Regions from separate parts of the Homo sapiens genome. Here all the other regions are linked to region 3. Evidence: promoter capture Hi-C in human tissues and cell types (Jung and others, 2019). All regions are on one chromosome and are shown on one strand. The core of a region is centred on a gene start or on the middle of the fragment in contact, and the rest is flanking DNA. Distances in the headings are between cores, read along the strand shown. Region 1 has its middle 11 kb from the start of CCDC110. Region 2 overlaps PDLIM3 (PDZ and LIM domain 3). Region 3 holds the start of PDLIM3 (PDZ and LIM domain 3).

Region 1 (3,419 bases), core at 780-3,279, 53 kb after region 3:
CATAAGGATAAACATATAAATCAATGGAATAGAATACACTCAGAATAAACCCATATATCAATGGTCAGTTTGTTTTAGGCAAGGATGCCAAGACAATCCAATGTGGGAAAGAATAGTCTTTCCAACAAATGGTTATGTGACAACTGAATATCCGTATACAAAGGAATAAATTTGGACTCCTATCTCATACAATAAACAAAAATTGACCCAGAGGGATTAGAGACCTAAATACAAGAGCTACAACAATAAAATTCCTAGAAGAAAATACAGACGTAAATCTTCATTTCCTTAGATTAGGCGATGGTTTCTTAGATATGAAACTAAAAGCACAAGCAAAGAAAAAAATAGATAAATCTGACTTTATGAAAATGTAAAACTTAAATGTGCTTCAGTGAACACTATCAAGAAAGTAAAAAGATAACCCACAGCATGGGAGAAAATATTGCAATCCTGTATCTGATAAGGGTCTGGTATCCAGAATTTTAAAACTCTTACAATTCAACAATAAGTAACCCAATTTAAAAGCAGGCAAAGATTTGAAAATACATTTGTCCAAAGAAGATATGCAATTGGCCAATAACCATATGAAAAGATGCTCAACACTATTAGTGATTAGGAAAATACAAATCAAAATCACAATGAGATACCACTTCTCACTCGTTAGGATGGCTATAATTAAAAAGATAATAACAAAAGTTTTCAAGAACGTAGAGAACAAGGAACCCTCACATATTACTGGTAGAAATGTAAAACGGTAACCTGCTTTGGAAAATAGTTTTGCAGTTCCTTAAAATGTTAAACATGGAGTCACTTATATGATCCAATTTTTCATGTCTAGTATATAATAAAGAAAAATGAACACATATGTCCACACTTGCACACAAATGTTCACAACAGCACGATTCATAACATCCAAACAGTGGAAATAGCATCAAGGTCCACTAACTGATGAATGGATAAACAAAATGTGGCCAATCCATACAGTGGAATATGATTCAGCCATAAAAAGGAATGAAGTACTGATAGATGCTACCACATGGATGAACCTTGAAAATAATATGTTAAATTAAAGAATCCAGACACAAAGGCCATATGTTGTATAGCTTCATTCATAGGAAACATCTAGAATAGGCAAATCCATAGACACTGAAACTAGGTTAGTGGTTGCCTGGGGCTGGCGGGGAAGGTAGAGTGGGGAGTGGCTGCTAAAGGGTACGGGTTTGGGGGGTAGTGATGAAAACATTCTGGAATTAGACAGTTGTGATGCTCGTGCAACATTATGAATATACTAAAAACCACTACATTACATACCATTAAAAGATGAATTTTATGGTATGCAAATCATATCTCAATAAAATCAGTCGGTCCACGTATTTTATGGTTCCATTAATAGGAAACATCCAGAATAGGCAAATCTGCAGAGACAGAAAATAAATTAATGATTGCCTAGAGCTGGGGGGTTGCGGTGAAATGGGGAATGGTAAGTAATGGGTGCAGGGCTTTTTTTGGGGTGACGAAAACATTCTGAAGTTGTTTTGTTGTAAGATTGTTCCAAAATCTGTGAATATACTATGAACCATTGAATTACACTTTAAATGGGTGAAGTATATCTCATTAAAGCTCTTCTTTTTAAAAAGAACACTAATATAAATATGTATGTGTCATTAATCTGTTAAGTATATACATTCCTAAGAACAGAAATGTTTAGGGTCAAATGAAACAACATGGTTAGAAATATTCTTCCTTATTTAGATGTTTTATAAATCCCTTTTCTGGAAATGCATGATCATTGCTGATATAATATCAATAGCAAACACACAGCTCTTACTATATACGAAGCACTGTTCTAAATGCTTTACATGCATGAACTCATTCACTCTTCACAGCAGCCCTGTGAGGTAGCCACTCTTTGTCTTCCTATTTTACAGATGAGGAAACTGAGACATAGAGGTTATTCCTTTTCTCCTGTAGTAAATGGAGGCAGAATTTGAATCCAGGTAGTCTGGTTTTAGAATCCAGGCTCTTTGCTTTTCACTTAGGATAATCATAAAGTTTTCATGGAATCACAAAGCTCTCAGTAAGCTTTGTCAAAATTGTCTCCTGGATTCCGTTTCAATATAACTTACTTCAGGTATTAGAGCCTAATGGTTACGAAAATGATCTTTGGACTCAGGCAGAGGTGACATGAATCCCAGCTCTCTACCTGTCAGCTTAAGAAACAGGGAAATCACGAAATCTCTCCAGACCTCAGTTTCATCAACCCATAAGATTAGGATAATCCTACTTTACAGGGTTGTTGTAAGAATTAAGATAATTCATACAAAAATATCAAACACATCACCTATTAAGTAAACTGTAAGTAATCCCTTAAGAAACTATTATTATATATAATTTTCACTATTCAATCCCAGATCCAAAATGACGTTCCTCTTTCTTCCAATTATTCTTTGGTACTAAAATCAAGGGTCAATTAAATGAGCACAACTATATCAAGCTGCAACGTTCACAGAGCTGGATTCCTATTCCTGCGGATCCCAAGAGAGCTGATATTTCACACTGAAACTGATCAGGTTCATGGAGCTCACTGGAGCTTTTCTTCATCTGAGGAGGGCAGTTTTAAAAGCCTGATCTCACATGAAACCCAACTCCACCAAAGACTCACTGACAATACTCTGTTATATCCAATGGTAATTTCAAGGCAATTCTTAATTCTTTAAGGATTTAGAAGACTAACAGAATTAAAGTCAATTCTGAGTAAGATTTCCAGCTACTGACACATTATTTCTAATCCTTATAACAACTTTGCCAAATAAATATTTTACAGATGAGGGAAAGTTTCAGAGAGTTGGATTTTTGTACAGGGCCAAACAGGTAGAAGGAAAAAAGCATGTAAACTCACCAATATTCACTAGTAATAAGTAAGATGGTTTGGAAATCTTTACACCTATGAAATTTAAACATTATTAAAATTCCTCCTCTCTATTGTATGGTTTTATTTTTTATCACTGATAAGTTATAGTCCATGTTTGTTCTCTTTAGAATAAAAATCATTTCTTCCATGAGTGCTAGCAAAAGCAGTGTGGAATAATAAAAACATTAAGTAATACTGTCACTAAGAAGGTTGTCATGGAGAGAGCTCTGGATAAGGACTTGGAATGCGGGCACAGCTTGGCCATCTGCAGAATGAGGAGGGAGGACAGGATGATCTCTGAGACCTCTAATACTCAAATACTCAATGTTCTGTTTTTGACATTGTCTTCACCTGTGTCAACTAGGCTGGCCATTCCATTTAGTGAGGGCACGCTGTCAATGTGGCCAGGTTCTTGGTGCAATTTAGAAGTTTCTTTCTGTTCCATGGTCATAAATGCCACCTCTAACTCATGCGTGGCTCACAACAGAAATCAAGCAAGGAGCATGCA
Region 2 (3,421 bases), core at 163-2,662, 34 kb after region 3:
TGTTTTGTTTTTGTTGTTATTGTTGTTGTTGTTTTTGAGACAGTCTCGCTCTGTCGCCCAGGCTGGAGTGCAGTGGCGCGATCTCGGCTCACTGCAACCTCCGCCTCCCGGGTTCACACCATTCTCCTGCCTCAGCCTCCCGAGTAGCTGGGACTACAGGTGCCCACGCCCGGCTAATTTTTTTGTATTTTTTTAGTAGAGATGGGGTTTCACCGTGTTAGCCAGGATGGTCTCGATCTCCTGACCTTGTGATCTGCCCGCCTTGGCCTCTCAAAGTGCTGGGATTTCAGGCGTGAGCCACCACGCCCGGTCGTCTTTGATCTGTTTTCTCTTGCTCCATTGAATAGAGGCTGGACCACGCAGACGGAAAGCAATCAGAGAGACTCTTCATTGGGTAGACAACCACCCCCGTCAAAAGCAGAATCTTTTGCAGAGGGGTTGGTCTTGTCTCCATCATGTCTCCCTCTTCAAAGAAACGATGGGGAAAGATCATGAAGTAGGATCCTACAAATTTTCTATAAAGTACTTGTTTGAAAATCTGAAAAATAGTCACACGTCAACATCAGAGAGAAACACGGGATGGTTTATTGTGGATATCCTAGATCTCCATGACAATTACATACAGTTTCACGGCTGTGCCTGCTTTCACAGCTGGAGGCCATTGTTTCCTGACTGTGAAATAGAGAACATCTGCCTTCTCTGTTGGGTTCTCTCCTTTGTCTCATATTTTTGCTCTGTGGTTTTTTAACTTGAGCTCGTTTTCTTCCCCAACAGCGGTGCTGTGGTGAAGGCGCGGGATAAGTACCGGCACCCTGAGTGCTTCGTGTGTGCCGACTGCAACCTCAACCTCAAGCAAAAGGGCTACTTCTTCATAGAAGGGGAGCTGTACTGCGAAACCCACGCAAGAGCCCGCACAAAGCCCCCAGAGGGCTATGACACGGTCACTCTGTATCCCAAAGCTTAAGTCTCTGCAGGCGTGGCACGCACGCACGCACCCACCCACGCGCACTTACACGAGAAGACATTCATGGCTTTGGGCAGAAGGATTGTGCAGATTGTCAACTCCAAATCTAAAGTCAAGGCTTTAGACCTTTATCCTATTGTTTATTGAGGAAAAGGAATGGGAGGCAAATGCCTGCTATGTGAAAAAAACATACACTTAGCTATGTTTTGCAACTCTTTTTGGGGCTAGCAATAATGATATTTAAAGCAATAATTTTTTGTATGTCATACTCCACAATTTACATGTATATTACAGCCATCAAACACATAAACATCAAGATATTTGAAGGACTCTAATTGTCTTTCCTTGACAAGTTGATTTTGCAATTGTGGTAAATAGCAAATAACAATCTTGTATTCTAACATAATCTGCAGTTGTCTGTATGTGTTTTAACTATTACAGTGCATGTTAGGGAGAAATTCCCTGAATTTCTTTAGTTTTGTATTCAAACAATTATGCCACTCGATGCAACAAACATAATAAATACATAAAAGATTTAAAAAATACCTAATGAAGTGGCATTCATTGAATTCAAATAAAATCAACATTTCAATGAGAGAACCCAATCATATTTTAACATGTACACTAACAAATATTTTAAGATAAATGTGGCTTCTTCAGGTTTTATAACTCATTACTCTTTCTTATGAGCACAAAATTTCTGATGATAGAAGCGTTGAAATTTGCTAGTTAAAGGTAGTTCAGTCTCTTTCAAATTAAAAGTTTCACTTGCTTCAACAGAGACTCTTTCAATTTAAATATCTCTTTCAGATCAATATTCAGTCAAATTGAAGGTTCAAAGTCCATCACTGCTGTTTCTTAGGCTCAATGGTTCACCACCTCCTCCTCTTCCCAAGATGGCATCTCCAGGAAGAAACAATTTAGACGACTTCCTAAGGAAGGCAGGGGCTGCTGGTCTCCTGGGGTCCTGCTTGTATCCACTGTTGAAATCCTTGGTTTCACTTGTGATCTGTGGTCTGTTTTCTTGACATAGTTGAGGCCAGGCAATAATAACACCTCCACTACCACCTCCAAAACTCTCAGCTCAGCTTTCCTGGAGTCATGGATCCTCTGTCTGAGACATGCACTCTGCCTGGCCCTGGCGCAGGCAGCCTACCTTGCAGGCTCTGCATGGCGTTACCTTGCCTCTCACCCAGGGTGCCCATGGCAATGCTCCTGACTTGCATCTCTCACCTACTTTCCATGTCCCCCACTGGGGACGTACAGGAACTTCTGAAACTGTCCCCTCAGGTTCAAACCATGGGGAACCAGCAGGGTGGGGACCCTCAGACCCTCTGTCTCACCACCTTGTGTCACATGGTCATCTCTACCACCCCTCAACCCCCACAGCTGCTAACTTCTGGCCTGAAACAAGTGTTCTCCTCCCATAAGGTCCCAAATGGGACACAAGTTTTATTGCTCTGGGATTCTTCCAAACTTAACTGACTCTGACCCTGACCTGTTCAGGATTTTGAGAGGAGCCAAAACACGTGCCTGGCCCCTGTAGGCATTTGACATTGCAACTCCTGTGCCAACACATGCATTCACTAACAAAGCTATTAAAAAAATAAAACAGACTTTTGAGATCAAAGAAATGAATGTATCCAAAATACATGTTTGTTCAACAGTCATTTTCAAACATTTTGTTCTGGGAAGGATATAAAGTTAAAGTTTAGAAAGCAAAGGAATGGTAACTGACTTTGAAAACCTGAGAAAGTTAAAACTCAAAGTAGCAATGGAGAAAACCATAAACCAACCCAATTTACTCTCTAGAATCTTAAAAAGGCATGGCAATGGGCAGCACCTGGCATTTCCGGACCCCAGGATAAAGGTACGACTACCATAAGGAAAGCTGAGTAGAAGCTGTTTCAGAAGCACTTAATCCCTAGAGCAGGGGTCCCCAGCCCCCACTGTGGCCTGATACCAGTCTGTGGCCTTTTAGCAACCAGGCCACGCAGCAGGAGGTGAGCGGCGGGCTGCCGAGCAAAGCTTCATCTGTATTTACAGCCGCTCCCCATTGCTCGCATTACCACCTGAGCTCCACCTCCTGTCGGATCAGAGGCAGCACTAGATTCTCAGAGGAGCATGAACCCTATGGTGAGCTGCACATGCAAGGGATCTAAACTGTGTGCTCCTTATGAGAATCGAATGCCTGATGATCTGTCACTGTCTCCATCACCCCTAGATGGGACCATCTAGTTGCAGGAAAACAAGCACAAGGCTCCTGCTGATTCTACATTATGGTGACTTATATAATTATTTCATTATATATTACAATGTAATCATAATAGAAATAAAATGCACAATAAACGTAATGCACTTGAATCATCCCCTAACCATCCCCCACTGCCCCCATCTGTGGAAAATTCTCTTCCACGACACTGGTCCCTGGTACCAAAAAGGTTGGGGACCTCTGCC
Region 3 (3,090 bases), core at 325-2,824:
TAGAACAGTACCCAAACCCAAAGCAGGATTTTCTAGGACCATTTAGGATGCAGCCAGTGCTTCTTCCTTAGAATTCTCCCTCCCAGCTAGTCTCACCTCTACCTTAACAGTCACTTCTGAGCACTTTCCTGCTGGTCTCCGTGAAGAGCAGGATGTAGGAAAACTGCCCATCTCATGTCCCTGCTTTCCACACTCTCTGCAAAGCCTTAGGAACTCATCAAGCCTGGGTGACAGATTAAGACTCTGTCTCCAAAAAAAAAAAAAAAAAACAAAAAGAAAGAACTCATCAGATATTATGTGGATATTGTATAGATATTGGCTACATCTAAATGATGCCAAAATGACCAGCAAAAAGGCAAAGAAAAAATCAGCTGTTTATATAAGCCAGCTCGTGAAGTAAGGTAAAAACAATTACTATAATTACACAACACCAAATGACTTGTCTGATTTTTTTTTTCTGAATGGACCTCTGTGTGTGTGCACGTGTATGTCTGCACCACGCAGACAGAGCCAGCAGCTGACTGAAGAAATGTGCTCTGCAGTGATACAGCCACAGCCCAAACAGGCAGTCAGCAGGACACACAATGTTCAGCTCCTCGATGGTCCAGCATAGATGGGGCACTGGGAAATGTGTGGAGCTAGAAAGTGCTTATCCCCTGGGACTTTTATGTAATCCACCACAGCGGACAAAGTAATGCCCATCCTACCTTTGTGATTTACATTTGCCCAGGCTGGTTCGCTTTGCTTACTGCTTACTGCTTACTGCTTTCTGCATCTCCTTTCTCTTTCCTCCATCAGTCTTAAAACTGCTTCCAAACAGACTGCCCTCTTAAAAGTCTGCTGCAGCTCTGTCCTCCTGGACCAATACGACCCTATCATATGGGGCATTAAGTCCAAGACCCTTATTCTTGAGTGTTTAAAGCATTTCTTATTTCTCTTCCCTCATTCTCCCCTCTCCCTTTGGGAATCACAACATCCCAACGCGTAACACCAGAAATACTTGAGTCCACACTGAGACTACCACAGGACCCCGGCCAGACTCTCCTGCACTTTGGGAGGCTGAGGTGGGAAGATTGTTTGAGCCCAGGAGTTCAAGACTAGCCTGGGCAACAAAGTGGAGACCCGGTCTCTAAGAAAAATAAATAAATAAAATAAAAATTTAAAAGGACATTAAGTAATTTGGCCAAAGCCGCAGAGGTCGTAAGTAAATATTAACGCACTCGAAACTGCTAAATAACTTATTGTATCGATGATGCTCGTTTTAATTGAAAGCATGGAGGCTGTGGTCTGGCTGCTTTCGCTTCCAACAAAGTGCACTGCTGCGCTCCAAGCAGAAGATAAACAGGGAGACAGGTGTGACTTCAAGAGAGCGACGGACGCTGTAACCCGAAGCCCCCGCGCCCGCCGCGGCCCGGGAGGCTGCCCCAGCCGGCCGGGCTGCGCACTCCCGCGGGGCTGGCGCGGCTCTCGCTTCCAAAGTTGGAGCTCTCCGGGGTGGGAGGGGGCGGGGAGGACGGCGGGGCGGTGACGTCACCCCCAGCGGGGATAAAGCGCCCCCGCCCGGGTCGGGGCCAGGACGCCGCCCGGCGCGGAGTGGCTGCCCTGCGCGGGGACACTTAGAGCCCGGTGGGCGGGAGGAAGGCGGCATGCCCCAGACGGTGATCCTCCCGGGCCCTGCGCCCTGGGGCTTCAGGCTCTCAGGGGGCATAGACTTCAACCAGCCTTTGGTCATCACCAGGGTAGGTGTCGGCATTCTTGCTTTTGCTGCGAGGTGGGGACTCCGGCGGCGTCCGGGGGGACGCAGTGGATGCCCCGGGGCCGAGGGCGGCCAGAAAGCGCGCGAGGGCGGGCGGACGGGGCGCTGCTGGCTCCCGGGCTTCGGCGCCCAGCTCCGGGGGCGGCGGCAACTCCGTCAAGTGGCTGCGGAGCGGCTCAGAGATTTGACAAAGTCCGCTCTAAAGGTGTCCCATCCTCTGGGTCCGCAGCGACTTTCCGAGGAGAGCCACTGGGCTCAGGGAAGGCGAGGCTGCCAGGCTCGAGTGCCTCCTCCCCTTTAGGTTTTAAATGTTTTATATGTGATAACAGAAATAAAACACACCCCATCGCCCTTCCGTAACAAATGATGGGTCCCGGGTGGGAGAGGCGAGGGACTGGCACCCCCCGGCATTCCCTGGAGCTGGCGCGCATCTGAGCGTTTTTCTCGTCCGGATGAAAAGTTCAGCAGCGCGCTGTTCGCGGGGCACGACCTGCGTTGGCCAAACTGGAGCCGCTCCTATCAGCCCAGACAGGGGAAGTCTTCCTAATGCTCACTCCTCAGTTTCCAGGCATTTTGAGCACGTTTTCCAAAGCTGAGAACTTGGCTTAGGAATTACCAACTTCTAACTCTAGCTACAAAGAAAACGTGGCAGACAGTTTAGTTTACCTGATGCAAAGTAAACCACTCAGCCTAAAACGGAAAATAATGCTTTAATGTCAAAGTCAAGCTTTACTTGGTGTTCTCTACTGTCTAATGAGAAAACAAGGTAAAAATAAAACCTCAGGGTTTCTCTCCTGTCAGTAAATTTGTAGAATTAATTCTAAAGCATTATTTGGTCTAGCTGGTTTTTTTCTAACACAATGTTTTTCTTCATAGAAAATTAATGTATTATTTCAGTTATCACATATAAAACATTTAATACCTAAAGGCGTAAACTTCCAGAATATTATACTTTTAGTTGCAGAGTATTATACTTTATTTTCTTGTATTCTTCTCATGCCATATTTTATAATTGTATGTGTTATAATCTGATTGATCTGCTCATACAGATTTTGAACAAGGTAATACCTTTTAAATTCTGTTTTATTTATATATGCCTATGAGATTTGGGAACCAACATCCTTTTAAAAATATGTCAAAATGTGTATCCTACAGACGCATACAATGGAACGTTTCAAGCCTTGTTTTACATTTTTCAAAAACATATAAACACATCTGACGTGTTTTTATATGAAACATGAAAACTGTTCAACATACCCCCAAAAACGTTCCTAAGTAAAGTAAGCAGAAAATGCTTCAGTGACCTGGGCCAAGCAATTCCTATTATAGATTTA

Evidence for each region. The method cuts DNA at HindIII sites, captures the fragments that hold promoters and counts their contacts. A contact is called where the count stands out against the background at its distance.
Region 1: a fragment that was not itself captured here is called in contact with the fragment with the promoter of PDLIM3 in region 3 in 2 of the 25 tissues and cell types used here (IMR-90 fibroblasts and aorta).
Region 2: a fragment that was not itself captured here is called in contact with the fragment with the promoter of PDLIM3 in region 3 in 9 of the 25 tissues and cell types used here (aorta, heart left ventricle, hippocampus and 6 more).

The regions. Positions count from the first base shown.
Region 1 is chr4:185,481,361-185,484,779 of GRCh38, reverse strand. No RefSeq gene overlaps it. Among named protein-coding and RNA genes, the nearest start is that of CCDC110, 11 kb to the right of the region's middle. The HindIII fragment of the contact is 4,244 bases long and covers 1-3,419 here.
Region 2 is chr4:185,499,837-185,503,257 of GRCh38, reverse strand. PDLIM3 (PDZ and LIM domain 3) reads left to right here. Exons shown (of 8, transcript NM_014476.6): 8 at 775-2,598. The coding sequence ends at 964. Among named protein-coding and RNA genes, the nearest start is that of CCDC110, 30 kb to the right of the region's middle. RefSeq lists an enhancer at 458-957. The HindIII fragment of the contact is 6,731 bases long and covers 1-3,421 here.
Region 3 is chr4:185,533,991-185,537,080 of GRCh38, reverse strand. It overlaps PDLIM3 (PDZ and LIM domain 3), which reads left to right and starts at 1,574. Exons shown (of 8, transcript NM_014476.6): 1 at 1,574-1,739. The coding sequence starts at 1,647. The HindIII fragment of the contact is 14,334 bases long and covers 1-2,826 here.